2 separate regions of the Homo sapiens genome follow, and region 2 is linked to region 1. Evidence: promoter capture Hi-C in human tissues and cell types (Jung and others, 2019). All regions are on one chromosome and are shown on one strand. The core of a region is centred on a gene start or on the middle of the fragment in contact, and the rest is flanking DNA. Distances in the headings are between cores, read along the strand shown.

Evidence for each region. Contacts are between HindIII fragments. The study calls those that stand out against the background at their distance.
Region 2: a contact is called between a fragment that was not itself captured here and the fragment with the promoter of DNAH8 in region 1, in 1 of the 25 tissues and cell types used here (dorsolateral prefrontal cortex).

The regions. Positions count from the first base shown.
Region 1 is chr6:38,714,061-38,717,884 of GRCh38, reverse strand. It overlaps DNAH8 (dynein axonemal heavy chain 8), which reads right to left and starts at 2,574. Exons shown (of 93, transcript NM_001206927.2): 1 at 2,470-2,574. It overlaps DNAH8-DT (DNAH8 divergent transcript), which reads left to right and starts at 2,670. Exons shown (of 2, transcript NR_186581.1): 1 at 2,670-2,819; 2 at 3,587-3,715. RefSeq lists a silencer at 2,538-2,587. The HindIII fragment of the contact is 5,796 bases long and covers 1-3,472 here.
Region 2 is chr6:37,714,965-37,718,788 of GRCh38, reverse strand. No RefSeq gene overlaps it. Among named protein-coding and RNA genes, the nearest start is that of MDGA1, 19 kb to the right of the region's middle. The HindIII fragment of the contact is 4,655 bases long and covers 1-3,824 here.

The sequences.
Region 1 (3,824 bases), core at 1,325-3,824:
TTGTTTCTCAGCATTTTTTTCTTTATGCAGTTACATAAAATACCTAATTTGCATGTACAGAATTGCAAAAAAATTGTAATCAGTAATAGTTTAGATTTGATAAAGTACATTATAAGCTTTCTAGGGAGAATACACAATAAATTATTAATAAGAATCACTCTGAGTGAAAGAAATTGAAGAAGGGAAGTAGAAGAAGAATTTTTACTTTCCAATTTCCTAACTTTCTGTATGGTTCTTTTCTAAAAAAAAAAAAAAAATCATGTGTACATTTTAGTTGTATTACATCTGTGCATATCATATACTGTAACATACAAACTCCTGAGCTCAAGCTCAGGAGTTTGAGACTAGCCTGGGCAACATGGAGAAACCCAGTCTTGACAACAAATGCAAAAAATTAGCCGGGCGTGGTGGCGTGCACCTGTAGTCCCAGCTACTTCGAGGGCTGAGGAGGGAAGATAGCTTGAGCCCAGGAGGTCAAGGCTGCAGTGAGCCAAGATGGCGCCACTGCACTCCAGTCTGGGTGACAGAGTGAGAACCTATCTTAAAAAATAAATAAATAAGACCTGAAATTCCCTACGAATCTACCCCCAAGCATTCACATTCTGCTGATGCAAAGCACACAGAGTGAATGTGGCATCAACACTTGTTCACTTTCTCTGGGTCCTTCTCTCCTTCACAGACAACTTGCTCTGTTGTGCAGGCTGGAGTACAGTCATGTGAGCACAGCTCATTGCAGTCCTCACCTCCTGGGCTCAAGCGATCCTCCTACCTCAGCCTCCCAAGTAGCTAGGACTAAAGGCGTACACAATCACACTTGGCTGTTCTTTTTTGGTTTGGGTTTTGGTTTTTCTGTAGAGATGGGATCTCACTATGCTGCCCAGGCTGGATGCAATCATTTTCAATTCCCACCATCCCTTCTTAAGTTAAATTTTAAGGATTCAGTGAACTTCTGCAAAGTCAACAAGAAATGCATCCTGGTTATTTTCAGGAGCATTTCCAGGTGTTGAACTCCTCCCCTCCTAGGAATACTACAGTAAGTGAGCAAGTTGCATACCTGTGTGCTGGGTACAGCCAATTCAACCACACCCTTTTCTCTTGCACCCATTTCTGTAACCCTATCCCAAATGCATTAGTTCATTCAGCAATATTGAACGTCTTCTGCATGTCTGGCCACTGTGGCTACATAAAAGACTAAGGACTTCTCCAAAGCAAAATGCACAATCAAATTGGTGTGACAGACTATTGAATACAACACAAGATGGTCAATGTCAATGACAGGTGAATTAACGAAGGGCTAAGAGAGCTTAGCAGGCAGCAAAACTTCTGAAAAACAAAAAAAGAAAGAAAGAAAACTTGACGGAGAAGGTACCACCCGAGTCGGGTCTAAAGAAGAGTTGTCAGGAGAGGATGGGAGAGAGAAACATTATAGGCAGAAGGTGGGAACAGTGGCGTACAAAAGCAGAGAAGCAAAAAGAGGCACAACTATCTTGGGAAAAGTGGTAAATTCAGTGATGAGACTTTTGGGCTAGAGGGGAATGAGAAGGGTAGAGGAACGGGAAATAAGCCGGAGGGAGAGGCATTTTTTTTGTTTTATTTTTGAATTTTTAAAAATATATAGGTATATGGCCGGGCGTGGTGGCTCATGCCTGTAATCCCAGCACTTTGGGAGGCCGAGGTGGGCGGATCACAAGGTCAGGAGATCGAGACCATCTTGGCTAACACTGTGAAACCCCGTCTCCACTGAAAATACCAAAAAAAATTAGCCGGGCGTGATGGCGGGTGCCTGTAGCCCCAGCTACTCGGGAGGCTGAGGCAGGAGAATGGCTTGAACCAGGGAGGCAGAAATTGCAGTGAGCCGAGATCGCACCACTGCACTCCAGCCTGGGCGGCAGAGTGAGACTCCGTCTCAAAAAAAAAAAAAAAATATATATATATATATATATATATATATATATATATTTATTTATTTATTTATTTATTTTAATAGCTTTTCGGGTACAGGTGGTTTTTTTACATGGATGCATTGGATAGTGGTGAAGTCTGAGACTTCAGGGTCATCCAGGTAGCATACATTGCAAGCGATATGTAGTTGTTTCATCCCTCACCCCCCTCCCACCCTTCCCCTTCTGAGTCTCCGAAGTCCACTATACCCCTCTGGATGCCTTTGCGTAGCAATAGCTTAGCTCCTACTCATAGGTGAGAACGTGCGGTATTTGGTTTTCTAGTCTCAAAACGGGGAGTGGGTGTGAAGTCACTTAGATGTCCAGTGTAGAGACTGACAAAGGGTAGTGACTCAGCTGGGGTTTTGAAGCAGGGGTTCCCTGGGTTCAACTAACAGAGGTGGAGGACTGAACTGTAGCGTGGATTCCAGTCCCCTAAAAAGAAGGAAAGTGGGCGGGGAACCCGGCTGCATCAGGGCCTCCCGGACAGGGGCCGGGCGCTCACAGCGCGCTCCGACCAAGTACTCACCAGCCGCTCTCTGGGCCCCGATGCCCCGACCACTCAGCCCACTGAGGCCGGCCCCAGCGGTTGCGCTGCCCCGGGGGAGCTGCTCCGGCCTCCGCGGCCCGGAACGAGGCTGACGGTTGGGAGTCCGAGACAGGCTCGCTCGGGGGCGAGGGCTCCGCAGTGCGCAGCTCCCTACGGGGAGCGACTGGAGGGGCACGGGCAGCCCCCGCGCTCCCCAATAAAGGATGCACCCACCGAGCCCGAGGACTGAAACATTGTTTAGGGGACCCCAGGCACTGAAGGGCGGGTTCCTGGAGATGGACATTTGGAGTGCGGTGCCAGGGGCTTGGGAGGATTCCCGCGTATACGTGGTAATACGGAAATATATAAAATAATGTTTTCTATGACCTTTACAGTTTCTGAAGTTACTTAGTGTTTTCCTTGAGAACCTAAAAAGTGTTTCCTGGTGAGTCAGTGTGTTCAGAAACCTGTGACTGATGAGAGAGAAAGATTCTGGGGGAAAACTGACTTCTCTCCCAAGTCCACCCCCTCCCCTCTCTAGTACGGTTCTGCTTTTGCTGTGACTGCCTGACATGATGTGAGCGGTCCGTTTTTAGTTGGGTGTGTTAACCAAAGAAAAAAAAATCAGTCATTTAAATAATTAATATTAGTTTTATTCAGATGTCTTACTAAGGATTGCAATCCGGAGAGTCTTTCAGAGACTTTCTGTGAGACTGCTCCAAAGCTTAGGTACAGGTGGTGGCATGTGATGGGAAGTGGCATCAGATGTGCTCAGCAGTTACATCAAATGAGCTCAGCAGTTACATTAGAGCAAAATCTCATCAAGGGTGGGGTTCAAGGGTACATCTGGTTATAGATTGTAGAGGCATAATCATTAATCCTATCAGCTATTATCTTATTATGTACAGGAAGAGGCATGAGTTAGGATCCTGGAACTTTTGCAAGAAAAGATTCATGCAAGAGATGTTATCATCTTCAGGGGCATTCTTCCAGGGGCTGCACTTAGTCACTGAGTTAGGGGATTTGTGAAATGTAGCTGCCAAAGAATTCTCTGACATTCTGCTGGCAAGCAGAATGAGCAAATATAGCTTCTTACATAAACTATTTTGTCTTACAGGTGTGAAAGTCAGTCTTTGAATGTAGAGCAGATCAATGTGGAATGAGGACTGAAAGGTCTGTCAACTGAAAAAAAAAACAAGAATGAATATAAAAAATCACAAATTAAATAAACCATGGTCCATCCATATTAATAGACATTACTCAGTGATTATACAATATAAGCTTATGGGAGCAAGGGAGTTCCTGAATATCCTTGCTGACTGTGCCGAAATGCAAGACCTACCTACCCTCTAACT
Region 2 (3,824 bases), core at 374-2,873, 1.0 Mb after region 1:
CCTCACCCAGCCTAAAAATGAAAAGTTTAAAACACACAAAGCAATAATTAACCTAACAGCCTTTTTAAAAAGTTTTTATTTTATTTTATTTTTAGAGACAAGGTCTCACTTTGTTGCCCAGGCTGGGGTGCAGTGGCACAATCATAGCTCACTGCCGTCTCGAATTCCCTGGCTCAAGTGATCCTCTTGCCTCAGCCTCCTGAGTAGCTGGGACTGCAGGCGTGGGCCACCATACCCAGCTAAGATTTTAGCCTGACACTCTTGATCTTTGTTTTGTAACAAATATCCCAGATATAGAAAAAAATATTGTGTGTTGATATGGGTTGAATCATTAAGCATGTGTCTAAACGCATCTTCAATTTGGGTGTTAGAGCATGCTATATGTTATATGCTTCAAATAAGCTCATTTATTTATCTTTTAACAATGAAAGTACTTTGCTTTCCCTGATTTTCTTTTTGTCACTGAAATAGATATTGCTTTTATTCGTTCAGACTTTAGATCAGTTTCCGATTTTGTGTCTGAGAATTCTACCACATTCCTATCTTCTTCTCTTTGCATTTCTGCCATAGCAAATATTCAAATGCTGGAAAAGGGCAGTGACCGTGACTGCACAGTATTTGAAGAATGTAATATTCAGATCTCCTAGCAAGGTTAACAGTAAGTACTACATGTATTACAATTGCCAACTTAAGGGCTTATTTTGCTTCCAAAACTTATTTCTTGAAACATTGCTCACAGGATTGGTATTAAGTATACTGCGCTTATAACTTATTAATATTTATTTTATTTGTAAGAATGACTCACCATTGGCAGCAGACAGGGCCACAAACATGCACTGATATGAGGGCAACAGCTCCCAGTCAGGAAGACTGACTGATTAGATGGTGACATTCTTGCCTATGAACTCCTGTCCTAGCTCCCAGAGATGTTGACCTTAACCTTCAACTCCATGTATCAGGGTTTCTGGCTCTTGCTTTCAACTTGACATCAGTTGATTCCTTTGAACAAATAACATCTCTATGTTGATTATGAAGCTCTAATTCTCACAAAAGAATTATAATACTTTTTCCCATTTTTCAGATTGCTTGACTAACTTTTCTGGGGATTTTCCTCAGAAATGCTGCATTGTAACACGCGGTCTATAGCATGACTGAAGGGAGGTGTTCTTCATCCAAAGAGTGTGAACTCTTGACATGCCTGTTCTAGACAGGATGGGATGCTGCTGCCCAGGGTTGGAGAGGTCACTAAAGAGAGAGTTGGGCTCTGGTAGAAAAACCACCCCAATTCACTGGTTCCCCAGGGTACCACCTCCCCAGGTGGACTCTTACAAGGCAATGTTCCCCAGGGACTGTCTCTAGCTCTCTTCTTGTCTTCATCTTCATGTTCTCTGGGGCACTGCATCCATGATCTTGGTTTCAATGCACCGATGAAATCCAAATTCTTGTCTCCAGCCCAGATCTCTCTCACTCTTTTACTTAAAGACCCATTTGCAAGTCTTCTCCTTCCCATCCACATGACTCCAAGCTTTCATGGTTTACAAGACTAATATCCAAGGTAGGAATGCTTCCACAGGAAGACAATAATGGTTCCATTGAACTGGAAGGTGAGATTGTCACCAGGCCCTTTTAGTTTGTCATGCAAAAAGGGAGATCATAGTGTCGGTTGGGATGACTAACCCTAATTATGAATGAGAAAAAATGGGGGCAAGAAAGAATAGGACTTGTAGGACAAGTAGTTCTAGGTCAGGTGGTAAAAGTTAATGGAGGCTGGGTGCAGTGGCTCATGCCTGTAATCCCAGCACTTTGGGAGGCCAAGGCAGTCAAGAAGTTAGTCAAGACCTGAGGTCAGGAGCTCAAGACCAGCCTGACCAACATGGAGAAACCCCATCTCTACTAAAAATACAAAAAATTAGCCGGGCATGGTGGCACATGCCTGTAATCCCAGCTACTTGGGAGGCTGAAGTAGGAGAATTGCTTGAACCCGGAAGGCAGAGGTTGCAGTGAGCTGAGACTGTGCCATTGCACTCCAGCCTCGGCAACAAGAGCAAAACTCCTGTCTCAAAAGAAAAAGTTAATGGAAGACCATACCAACCCCAAACAGGCAACACCATCAAAGGCTCAGCCTTCTCCAGAAAGAAGGTTAAGATGACCCCACCAGATAAAGACCTCTGATCAGCTGAGGTACTCATGAAGACAAGTGGGACATGGGATGAAATGACAAATACCAACTATAGCCTGTGATCAGTTGCAGAAACAAGAATTATAGTATCCACCCATAGTGTACTCCTTGCTTTTCTTACGGATATATTTATCTCTTTTAACCAAACTTCCTTATTTCTCCCATCTTCATTCCCCATTATTTTTATATAAGGATATTTTTGATAGTTATATTTGCAATTTATGGCATAGATTATAGAATTTTGAAATGGAATCATGACAGAATTAGAAGGAGAATGGACCTCCCTGGTTATCCTGGTGTATTTACTGATATGAACATGGGTTGTCCCCCTTTGGGGAAAAGGGTAAGTTTTCATTGTGAAGAGTAATTACATCATGTTAGGTTTTCATGGTGGTCATCGTGGTGGGTAAGTCTGAGAAGGAAGAAGGGTATATATTGATGTTGGGCAGCCAAGAGGTGGACTGTACTAGACATTTGTCATTCTTCTTGGCTGCCTGGGGCTTTTAAGCCTTCTTTCTTTATCTGGAACCTCCATATCTTATGTGTCTGCCTCTCCCCTAAGTAGCAGCCAGAAGCTCGCTTTCCTGGGCTCCCTTATACCAGGTATGTAACTTAGGCTGCCCCAAATAAATGTATCCAGAGAAGTCTCTGAAGAAGCATGGCCTCTATTTTGGTGAGTGTAGCAGCAGAGGCACCCAACTTCCAGAGGCTGTGATGGCAGAAGTTCTAGGGAGTACCACCCCTTAGACCTGGGCAAGAGGAGTCCCTGCTTTGGCCCATGCATTTATAGAGTCCTACTGTGGTCCTCCTCCAGCCACACTCCTCCCGTCAGGGTCAGGAATCTGCAGGACCAAGGGACATGCCTACCCGGAGCCCACACCTCTACTTCTACATCGTGCTTTGAGAACCAGGATCCCAGATTTCCTGTCCAAATGGCCCCATACCCACTTCCAGGGCCTGTACAGGCCTCTTTCCTGGGTCTGTCTTCCGAAGGTAGATCACACTGCAGTGGTGTACCCTAAAGCCTGAGAGGCAGCCCAGGGGTGTTTGTTGGTGGGGGATGTGAAGAGAACTTGGGCCGGTAGGCAGGAATGTCTACACACAAGCCCAGGGGCCCCTTGCAGGGCAGGACAGGGCCAAAGGGAAGAAAGAGAAGGGACAGGGGCTGGAGGCAGATTCCCTGCACCACCCTTTTGTAGCACAGTTCTGAGGATTCTGAGTCTGAACCTGACCTTCCTGGCTGTTATAAAAGTTTATGTGTCAAGGTGTAGAATCTGTGGAAGACTGTATTTTCTAAAAATGGTAACGGCAGCGTGTCATCTTGCTTGCTCTTTCAGATCTTTACATTCCCCACCAAGAGGCAGAGTCCACTTCCCCTCCCCTTGCATCTGGGCAGCACTTTGTGACTGCTTTGATGAATAGAGTGTGACAGAAGTGGTACTGCATGACTTCGGATGCTAGGTCATGAAAGGCAATCCAGCTTCTTATGGGTGTCTCTTTCTTAGGAAACTTGCCCTTGGAATCCATCCATCATGCTGTGAGGAAGTGCAGACCAGTCCTCGTGGAGAGACACATGGAGAGGGACCGAGGCCTCCAGTCAACTACCAGACATGTGAATGAGTAAGCCTACAGATGCTTCCAGTCC